2 separate regions of the Homo sapiens genome follow, and region 2 is linked to region 1. Evidence: promoter capture Hi-C in 16 types of primary human blood cells and fetal thymus (Javierre and others, 2016). All regions are on one chromosome and are shown on one strand. Each heading gives the region's core, a stretch centred on a gene start or on the middle of the fragment in contact. The rest is flanking DNA. Distances are from core to core; before and after follow the strand shown.

Region 1 (5,813 bases), core at 2,090-4,589:
CATTTCCTTCTTTTTTCCTATCATTATCAGTCACTTTCACTGAGGTCTTCCCAGGGACATTGTTTAGTGTAGCTCAGGGTTTCTCAGCTTTGACACCAATGGCATTTTGGGCTGGTTAATTCTTTGTTGTGGTGGACTGTTCTGTACACAGTAGGATGTTTAGCGGCACCCCTGGCCGCTATCCAGAGATGCCAGTAGCAACTCCCCATTCAGGAGTGACAACCAAAAGACATTGTCAAAGATCCCCTGGGAGGCAAAATACCTCCCACCCCCTCCCCCTGCCAGTTGGGTGTCACTGTAACAGTGTAAAGAGTACCAGGCTTTGGAGTCAGTTAGATCTCTACTCTGATCTTATCTCTGACACCTCGATGGTGTAAATTCTTGATCAGTGACATCTCTTTGAGCCCCCATTTTCCCCTCTGCAGAACTGAAATGGTTTTTTGATAAAGACTGATTTTCAGGGGAGGATTAAATAGAATAGACATGGACTGGAGGCTGAGGTGGGGGAATCGCTTGAACCCAGGAGGCAGAGGTTGCAGTGAGCTGAGATTGCACCACTACACTCCAGCTTGGCAACAGAGCGAGACTCCGTCTCAAAAAAAAAAAAAAAAAAAAAAAGAATAGACATGGAAATCATCTAGGATAGGTCGGTAAATCTGTAACAAATTAGAACTCTTAGCCCTCACCAGGCTGTGTGTTGTGTTGTGGGGTACAATCCCGAACCCTGCACTATGAAGCTCAGGGTCAGGACAAGAACGATGCTTATAGCAATAGTAGCTTCTACTTATGAACATTATCCACACACCAAGAGCTTCTCCCTTAACCCTCACAACTCCTCTCATAGGCTCTGTGGATGGGATGTGTTAATATGTGTAAGCACTCAACACACCCTGAGACACGGTGAATATTGATTAATGTTAGTTTTAATTTGTATAACCATTGTACAGACGAGAAAGTTAAGACTTAGATTGAGGTGGGATGTGGTGAGGGATAAAAGATCATTTTTTATACCAAAAAAATTGAAAATTGTATTTCTACTAGATCATTCTATCACATAATCACGCCCCCTCTCTTTCAAGAGAAACCTCCTTTGAAGCATATTTCTTTCCAGCTTCAACCCTATCTAGCCAAATGACCTCTCTGTAAGGTCTGTCTGTAAGACAGAATTTCCAGCCAAACATCCAAAGAGAATGTCTCTAATTCTTCCTTTTCCTTCTTCGCCTCAGCTGTTCTCCTTAATCCACTCCACATTGACTTCTGTCCTTAGCACTCCACCTAATGCATTTTCCCAAGGATGCTTATGACCCCCAGGCTGCCAAATCCAGTGAGTCCTTCTCAGTTTTTAAGACCTGATATCCCAATGACACAGGACCCATTGGATCACTTTCTCCCTTTTCAAACACATTTTTCCTATGCCATGAGATATATCCAAGAGATATGTGCACACAATACACTCTTGGTCGTCTCTACAGCTCGATTCTCTTCCTCTTTTTAGTCCAATTTACGGTGTTTTCTATTCTAAATTTGACTCTAAATGTTGGGGTATCTCACATTCTATAAATGATATCATCCAGTCTCTGGGATTAAACCATTATGCTGTCTTTTCATCTAAATTATCAGCCGTGGCCTCTCCCTGGCACTCAAGTCTGATAAAACCTCTCCCCGTGGGAGTCCCATAGACTCCAAACCTCACATGGTTTTACCAAACTGTTGATGTTCTCTGCCTCCCAGACCTGCCACTCTTCCAATATTCTGTATCTATTTGGAGATTAAATATTCAGTTGTTAAAGCTCCAGATCTAGAACTCACCTTTCATTTCTCTTTTCCTCACCACCCAACGCCATCCACGTCTTACTCATTCTATCTACAGAACATGCTGAATGCACAGCCAGAGCCATTGCCATCTCCACGACCGGTGTCCATGGCCCTGTCAGGCTTGGATATTTGCACAAGCCTTGCAAATAGCTTTTTCCTGGTCCTGCTGCCCCCTCCCCTAAGATCCATTCTCCAGACAGAAACCAAATGAGCTTTAAAAAGGTCCAATAAGATGGTGATGTTATTCGCAATACCTTCCGATGGCTTCCAGACTTCTAAGTTACCCTTATCTTAGGTTCCCTTATCCTAGGTTCCCTTATCCACTGCCACATGTGCCCTGTGCATCCCTCAGACCTCATCTCTGCACTCTCATCAGACACACTGGGCTCCACCCACTGGGCTCTAATTCCTTGAACTTGCAGCTCTTTGTCATCTCAGGGCTTCTGCTTTCTCTATTCCTTCTGCCTACCGTGCTCTTCGTCTTGAGCTTCCTGCACCTGGCTCATCCTGAATATTCATATTTCAGGTCAAATATTATTTCAGAGAGATCCCACCTCACCCACTCTGCAAAGCAGAATGCTCAGGTACAGCCTATCTCACCAGATACTTTTCTCCTTTATTTGTTTGTTCATTTATCTTCTCTCTTAAATACCCTCCACACTAGTACGTAAGCTCCACAGGACTATCAAGATCCTTCAATGCTACATCTCTACAATGCTACATGTCCAGTAGAAATATAATGTGTTAACTTTAGCTACATATGGGACTCAAAATTTTTTTGTAGCCACTGTTTTTAAAAAAGTAAAACACCTTTGGGGAAATTATTTTAGTAATAAATTTTATTTAATTACATATATGATAAAGAATTGGCCAGTCACATTGGCTCACGCCTGTAATCCCAGCACTTTGGGAGGCCGAGGTGGGCAGATCACGAGGTCAGGAGTTGAAGACCAGCCTGGCCAACATATTGAAACCCCGTCTCTACTAAAAATACAAAAAATTAGCCAGGCGTGGTGGCAGGTGCCTGTAATCCCAGCTACTCAGGAGGCTGAGGCAGGAGAATCGCTTGAACCTGGGAGGCAGAGGTTGCAGTGGGCTGAGATTGTGCCACTGCACTCCAGCCTGGGTGACAGCGCAAGACTCCATCAAAAAAAAAAAAAAAAAAAAAAAAAAAAAGAATGTTACTGGAACATGTAACCAAATTAAACACTGTTAATGAAATAGTTAACATTGTTTTCATACTAACGAAGTGGATTCTTCACTGGACTACGCTACTCCAGAGTTAGAAGGGCTCTGTCATATAGCAGGCATTTCAACAATAACTTTAAAATTTTCAGACCCCAACTTACCACCAGCTTAGATCCTTTTCCTGTGCCCAGTTCCTGGATTCCTGTGGAGCAACTCAGGCTCTAAGTACTTGTAAAAAGATGAAGTTATATGTTTGGTTTTAAGATCTTAATTGGCTTTGGTTATAAAGATGGAATCAGACAGCCTGTCATGCTATAAAACAAAATGAGTGTTTTGATAGTTAGAGCCAAGGAAGTTGGTTTTACAGGGATAGGAGGGCTAAAGAAAGCAGAAACAGAGAACAAAAACCTGATTGGTCATCTGGATGTTGCATTTTTTTTGTGCAGCAGGAATAGAGAGACAGCAATAAGGAACAACTGATTGATTGAAGTCAAGTTACCACAGATTGCTTTTTTTTTTTTTTTGTAAAGATGAAAGCAGACAGAACTTCATGTTCATGCCCACTGAAACTGGCCTGTTTTAGGAATTTGTCCATTTTCTCTCTCTCCTGATTTCTCAAAAGTTCAGATACATTAGTTTTGGTTTGGTGATGTGGAGTTTTAGTATGACTGACTCCATTTGGTTTGCTTTGTCGAACCTAGTACAATAGGTCAGTCCAAACCACTTACTTGCTGTTTTTATAGAACAGGCTTCAGCAGAGACTTAGTTGAAGGACACGGGGACAATGGAGCTGGAATCAATCCAGTGACACAAACTCAGGGTTTCTTACCATTCCCAGAAGACACCTTGGAGATGTTCTCAGACGATTTATCTTGGAAACTTATGTGTCTGAATGTTCCTTCACCTCTAGCCTTCTGTGGGAGACTGGAGTTCATCCTTCCAAATATCAAAGGCCAAGAAATCTGAGAGTCCAGGCCCTTTCTTTTCAGAGATTCAGGAAAATGAAAGAAACAATTACCAAGGTGAGAAGAATGAGAGGAAAAACAATAAAAAAACAAAGATGCACGGTGAAACAAAAACTCGATTCTCTACTTTCACAATCCTTCTGACCAAATATACTTTTTCTCTACACCAAGAAATTCTCCAATTCTCTGGGGACACCACCTGGGCCACCTGCAATTAAAAATTCGGTTATGATGCTGTCTACCTGGATTCAGCTCAGATCCGAAAAGCTAAAGGGCTCACTCCCACAAACTGTTCTCAGATCAGATCAGACATCTGTTGCAAGTCCCAGGTGGCTACTTGTACTTCTGACTGACAGGCTATAAATTGGGTGTTCCAATGACACCAATAAATTGCTAGAATGGCACACAGAACTCAGGAAAGCACTTTGTTTGCATCTGTTGCTTTATATAAGGAATATACCTCAGGAATAGTCCATTGGAAAGAGGCATATGGCAGGTATATGGCAGGGAAGGGGTTGGGTGGTGCATGGAGCTTCCATGCTCTCTTCAGGCAGCCACTCTCCCAGCACTCCTGAGTGTTCACCAATGTGGAAGCTCATCAAATCTCATTGTTCAAGAGTTTTTATGGAACTCAATCTCCAGTCCCTGCCTCCCCTTCCTGGAGATCAGTAGGTGGGGCTGACAGCTCCAACCCTCTAATCCCTTGGTCTTTCTGGTGACCAGTCCCATCCTAAGGCCATGATCTCCTTAGCATAAACTCAGCTATGATCAAAAGGGGCTGTTTATGAATAACAAATAATACTCCTATCACTCAGGGAATTCCAAGGGTTTTAAGAGCCCTGTGCCAGAAATCTGTGACAAAATCAAATATGCTTTGAGGTATTTCATACCTCAGAGTTACAAAGAGAAGCAGTAACTAGGAGCATGTAGAGAGGTAAGGAAGGTAAATGAGAGACACTGTACACTCCACACCATTGCCGAGATTAACCCCCTAACCTTCTGCCCCTAGGGAGATGCTCTATGGACTACTGATCTAAGGAGATGGGCTCTTTCTGAGTTTTTAAACACCATCAGAATGTTGTTCTCAAGCCCAAGGAATAGAACCATGAAAAACAGTGGAGAGCCACAAAACAAGAGTCAACTATTTTCTATTTTCTCTCTGATTCACTGGATGTTTTCAGTGATAAGGTAGAGTAAACCAATGAAGCACATAAGCCATGGAGAAATTTATTATTAAAAAAAGTTTTGGAAGGGGATAGATCTGGAGTTTGAACAAAAATTGAGTTTAATGTCACCCTTCCACTCCATCATCATATTGGTTTTCTTCTAGGGCTTTCTTGAAAGTGACCACAGAATGGCTGCCACTGTTCTGGACATTGCATCAACAGGCCCTCCCGAGCCAGAATCATGAGACAGGCAGAAAATGTGACTCATTCACATGCCTCTTCCATTTTATTACAGAGGGAAACCTTGTCCAGAGTCTCTTCAGGACCTCTCCTTGTCTTTCATTGCCAGAGCATGCCATCTCTAGACCAATCAATGGCCAAGAAATAACAAAAATACCGATACATAAAAATAAAGGTCAGGGACAGTGGCTCACGCCTGTAATGCCAGAATTTGGGGAGGCCAAGACAGGAAGATTGCTTGAGCTCAGGAGTTCAAGACCAGCCTGGGCAACATAGTGAGACCCCATCTCTAAAACCAAAAAAATATTAGCTGGGTGTGGTGGTGTGGACCTGTAGTTCCAGCTACTCAGGAGGTGAAGTGGGAGGACTGCTTTGTCAGGGAAGTTGAGGCTGCAGTGAGCCATGATGATGCCACTGCCCTCGAGCCTGGGCAATGAGC
Region 2 (5,813 bases), core at 1,634-4,133, about 15 Mb after region 1:
TTGTTTACATTCCTTATAATTAGTGATGTATTTGGATTTTTTTTTTTTTTTTTTTGAGACAGGGTCTCTCTCTCTCTGTTGCCCGGGCTGAGTGCAGTGGAGCAATCACAGCTCACCACAGCCTCAACCCCCTAGGCTCAAGCAATCTGCATACCTCAGCCTCCCGAGTAGCTGAAAATACAGGCACAATCCACCTCTCTTGGCCTGTTTGAATTTTTTTAACCAGCTTATTCTATTTGTCTCACTTTTCCTGTCTTCTGTTGCCTGTTTTATTTTACACTGTTTTAGATTTGAGGTTTTAAAAAAATCTGATGCCCATACTTAGTTCGATTCCACTGATTTGGAAGTTGAAAGCATGGACTCTTGAGCCAGATTGCCTCCATTCAAATCCTAGCTCTGCTATTTAATACCTCTATGACTTTTGGCAATTTACTTAACCTCTCTGGTCCTCATTTGCAAATATATATGCTATTCACAGGATTCTTCTGAAGATTAAATGAGCTTATATAGTAAATGTGTAAAGCAGTGAAAATAGTGCCTGGCATATAGCAAGCATGGTGTGTAAGCTATTTTTTTTTTTCCTGTCCATTTTGTTCTTATTATTGGGATTTCATCATGCATAATTTTTTTTTAAGAGACAGGTTCTCCCGTGGTCACCCAGGCTGGAGTGCAGTGGCTTGACCACAGCTCATTGCAGCATTGACTTTCCGGGCTCAGGTGATCCTCCCGCCTTAGCCTCCCGAGTACCTGAGGCTACAGGCATGTGCCACCACACCCGGCTTTTTTTTTTTTTTTTTTTTTTTTGAGACAGTGTCCCAGGCTGTTGCCCAGGCTGGTCTTGAACTCCTGGGCTCTGGTAATCTTGCAGTCTTGGCATCCCAAAGTGTTGGGATTAGAGCCATGAACCACCATGCCTGGCTTATAGAACTTTTACTTTTTTTTTTTTTTTTTTTTTCCTGAGATGAAGTCTCGCTCTGTCGCCCAGGCTGGAATGCAGTGGCACAATTTCGGCTCACTGCAAACTCTGTCTCCTGGATTTAAGCAATTCTTCTGCCTCAGCCCCCTGAGTAGCTGAGAATTCAGGCGTGCACCACCATGCCTGGCTTATTTTGTATTTTTAGTAAAGTCGGGGTTTTGTCATGTTGACCAGGCTGGTCTTGAATTCCTGACCTCAGGTGATCCACCTGCCTCAGACTCCCAAAGTGCTGAGATTACAGGCGTGTGCCACCGCACCTGGCCCCGTAGAACTTTTAAAATTTACCATCCATGGCACTCATGGCACCTCAGATTTTTTTTAGAAAACCTCATCACTTCTGAATAAATTTTAGCTGTTCCATCTTGAATATAGTTTGCTCCCTGTTCTTTCAGTATTACTTTCAGGAAGACAAATGAATTCTTTGACTTTTCTTTATGACTTTTAACCTTGCTTTTGCATTTCCAGTTATTTAACCATTCCAGTGAGGTTTTGTTGTTGATTTCTTTCTCTTTTTCTCCTTGAAATTTATATGTTGAAGAAACTGGATCATCTGTCATTTAACATTTAGCTCTCCTCCCTTTACTCCTTTCTTTCCTATAAACAGACTATGTGATATTAGTATTGTGTATTTCATCAAGAAGCACATATCTGGTTGTTTCTGTTTTTGTGAAGTTAGCAGCCATTCCTCATCTCATCCCCTAAAAATTACTAGGTAATTTTAAAATTGTCCTTATGAACACACAGATTTAAAAAAATTTGATGTGATTTATTGTAATTACATTACAATGATTACAGTTTTTATTCTTGAATTCATGCTCAACTTGTCCCATCTTTGGCCAATGGGACCCTCTTCACAATGGTTCCTGAGTCTTTTTGACATGACCCTAGGAGTCTTGAATAAGCTTCTTTGCTTTTCTAATATGCCAGCTTTTTCCATGCTCATAATGCACACTTTCTGTTCTAATCCCAAGATGCTCCAAGGAGCCTAGGTTCTGTGTAGTAAGAAATGGTATTTAGAGACAGTAATCTGTCATTAGCGTGTTCATTGCTGCCAGATTGGTTGTTTCTAAGGCTTCAATGGATGAAGATGTATAGTATTTTTTAAAAATCATGATTGCACTCTTATACTGCCAATTCAAATTCATTCATTGAATTTTAAGTTTCAATGATTCATTTTTTAATTTTTAGATACTGATACCCCATTTGTGTCTTTTACAAAAATTTGCTTGGCCTTTTTGCTAGTGAGATGTTACTTTCTCACTTTAAAAAAGTAAACTTTAGGTTTTAGGATAGTTTTAGACTTACAGAAAAGTTGTGAGGTTAGTACAGAGACTTCCCATATACATCACATGTAGTTTCCCATTAACATTTTATATTTGTACATTTGTCATAATTAATGAATGAATGTTGATCCTATTAAATAATAACATTGTTGAAGCAATGTTGTTATTATTATTTACCTTTCCTATGGTGCTGAGATCTATTATTATTAATGGAAACCCCTACTTTACTCAGATTTCCTTAGCTTTTTTTTTTTTTTTTTTTTTTTTTTGAGATGGAGTCTGGTTTTTGTTGCCTAGGCTGGAGTGCAATGGTACGATCTTGGCTCACTGCAACCTCAGCCTCCCGGGCTCAAGTGATTCTCCTGTCTCAGCCTCCCGAGTAGCTGAGATTACAGGCATGGGCCACACGTCTGGCTCATTTTTGTATTTTTAATAGAGACAGGGTTTCACCATGTTGGCCAGGCTGGTCTTGAACTCCTGACCTTGTGGTCCGCCCGCTTCAGCCTCCCAAAGTGCTGGGATTATAGGTGTGAGCCACTGTGCCTGGCCTCCTTAGCTTTTACCTAATGTCCTTTTTTCCTATTCTAGGATCTTGGCTAGGCTAACACATTGCATTGAGTCATTATGTTTCCCTTGGCTCCTCTTTGCTTTGACAGCTTTTCAGGCTTTCCTTGTTTGTGATTATCTCAATAGTTTTGGAGAGTACTGGCCAGGTATTTCATAGATTGTCTCTCATTTTGGGATTTGTCTGGTGTTTTTCCAGTGATTAGACTGGAGTTCAGTATTTTTAGAAGGAAGATCACAGAGATAAAATACTGTTCTCATCACATCATATAAGGGTACATACTATCACCATGTATACCATGTATGTACACCATCTTTTTTTTTTTTTTTTTTTTTTTAAGACAGGGTCTTGCTCTGTGGCCCAGGCTGGAGTGTAGTGGCACAATCACAGCTCACTGCAGCCTTGAACTCCTGGGCTCAAGCAATCCTCCTGTCTCAGACTCCCAAAGCGCTGGGATTACAGGCATGAGCCACCACGCCCAACACATCTTTAATTCTTAAGGACATTATTTTCAGTTTGTCTCCCCTTTCTACCATAGATGTTTTTATTTCTACTCAACAAGGAAATGCTATGTTTTTGCTTTCTGGTTATTTTTCAGACTCGGAGTTTAGATGTAAGACCAAAGATTCATGTTTGCCAAAAGAAATCTATGAAGTAACATCATCTCAGTGGGTGAGAATGGAAAAATGTCATAGCCTTGTGGGCTCCAGTGTCAGAGATGACTGGGAATGCAAAGGCCAGTTTCAGCACCAAGATATAAATCAGGAGCGATATTTGGAAAAAGCAATAATGACTTATGAAACAACACCAACTTTCTGCCTACAGACATCTCTCACTCTGCATCATCGGATTCATCCTGGAGAGAAACTGTATAAATCCACAGAATGTATGGCTTTTAAGTATGGCTCAGAACTTACACAACAGCAAGAAACCCATACTGGTGAAAAACTCTATAAATGTAAGGAGTGTGGGAAGGCCTTTCATCACTTTTCCTATCTTGTTAAACATCAGAGAATTCATACTGGGGAAAAGCCCTGTGCATGTAAAGAATATGGAAAAGCTTTTATTTCTGGCTCACATCTTATTCAACACCAGAAAATGTATACAGATGAGAGACCTCATGAGTGTCAGGAATCCGTGAAGGCCTTTAGACCGTCTGCACATCTTATTCAACATTGGAGAATTCATACTGGTGACAAACCTTATGAATGTAAAGAATGTGGGAAATCTTTTACTTCTGGCTCAACACTAAATCAACATCAGCAAATTCACACTGGTGAGAAACCCTATCATTGTAAGCAATGTGGAAAATCTTTTACTGTTGGCTCAACACTAATTCGACACCAGCAAATTCACACTGGTGAGAAACCGTATGATTGTAAGGAATGTGGAAAATCTTTTGCTTCAGGCTCAGCACTAATTCGACATCAGCGAATTCACACTGGTGAGAAACCCTATGACTGTAAGGAATGTGGAAAATCTTTTACTTTTCACTCAGCTCTAATTCGACATCAGCGAATTCACACTGGTGAGAAACCCTATGATTGTAAGGAATGTGGGAAATCTTTTACTTTTCGCTCAGGGTTAATTGGACACCAGGCAATTCACACTGGTGAGAAACCCTATGATTGTAAAGAATGTGGAAAATCTTTTACTGCTGGCTCAACACTAATTCAACATCAGCGAATTCACACTGGTGAGAAACCCTATGATTGTAAGGAGTGTGGGAAATCTTTTGCTTCGGGCTCAGCACTACTTCAACATCAGCGGATTCACACTGGTGAGAAACCCTATTGTTGTAAGGAATGTGGAAAATCTTTTACTTTTCGCTCAACACGCAATCGACACCAGCGAATCCACACTGGTGAGAAACCCTATAATTGTAAAGAATGTGGAAAATCTTTTGCTTCTGGCTCAGCACTACTTCAACATCAGCGAATTCACACTGGTGAGAAACCCTATCATTGTAAGGAATGTGGAAAATCTTTTACTTTTCGCTCAGGGCTAATTGGACATCAGGCAGTTCACACTGGTGAGAAACCCTATGATTGTAAAGAATGTGGAAAATCTTTTACTTCTCGCTCAGCACTAATTCAACATCAGCGAATTCACACTGGTGAGAAACCCTATCACTGTAAGGAATGTGGAAAATCTTTTACTGTTGGCTCAACACTACTTCAACATCAGCAAATTCACACTGGTGAGAAACCTTATGATTGTAAGGAATGTGGGAAGGCCTTTAGACTTCGTTTACGACTTACTCAACATCAACAAATCCATACTGGTGAGAAACCTTATCAATGTCAGGAATGTGGGAAAGCCTTTGTCAGTGTCTCAGGACTCACCCAACATCACAGAATTCACACTGGTGAGAAACCCTATGAATGTCCGGACTGTGGGAAGGCCTTTAGACAGCGTACATACCTTAATCAACATCGGAGAATTCATACTGGTGAGAAACCTTATGAATGTAAAGAATGTGGGAAATCTTTTACTTTCTGCTCAGGACTAATTCAACATCAGCAAAATCACACTGATGAGAAACCCTATGATGGTAAGGAATGTGGGAAATCTTTTACTTCTCACTCAACACTAATTCAACATCAGCAAATTCACACTGGTGAGAAACCCTATGATTGTAAGGAATGTGGGAAATCTTTTACTTCTCACTCAACACTAATTCAACATCAGCAAATACACACTGGTGAGAAGCTCTATGATTGTAAGGAATGTGGGAAATCTTTTACTTCTCATTCAACACTAATTCAACATCAGCCACTTCACACTGGTGAGAAACCTTATCATTGCAAGGAATGTGGGAAATCTTTTACTCTTCGCTCAGCACTAATTCAACATCGGCCAGTTCACACTGGTGAGAAACGCTACAGTTGTAAAGAATGTGGGAAATCTTTTACTTCTCGCTCAACACTAATTGAACATCAGCGAATTCACACTGGTGAGAAACCCTATCATTGTAAGGAATGTGGAA

Evidence for each region. Contacts are between HindIII fragments. The CHiCAGO score rates a contact against its expected background, and 5 or more counts as called.
Region 2: a contact is called between a fragment that was not itself captured here and the fragment with the promoter of FPR3 in region 1, in 1 of 17 cell types (total CD4 T cells). The highest score is 6.2, in total CD4 T cells.

The regions. Positions count from the first base shown.
Region 1 is chr19:51,792,683-51,798,495 of GRCh38, reverse strand. It overlaps FPR3 (formyl peptide receptor 3), which reads right to left and starts at 3,339. Exons shown (of 2, transcript NM_002030.5): 1 at 3,165-3,339. The HindIII fragment of the contact is 12,110 bases long and covers 1-5,813 here.
Region 2 is chr19:36,748,414-36,754,226 of GRCh38, reverse strand. ZNF850 (zinc finger protein 850) reads left to right here. Exons shown (of 5, transcript NM_001193552.2): 5 at 3,423-5,813. Among named protein-coding and RNA genes, the nearest start is that of ZNF850, 21 kb to the left of the region's middle. The HindIII fragment of the contact is 2,006 bases long and covers 1,881-3,886 here.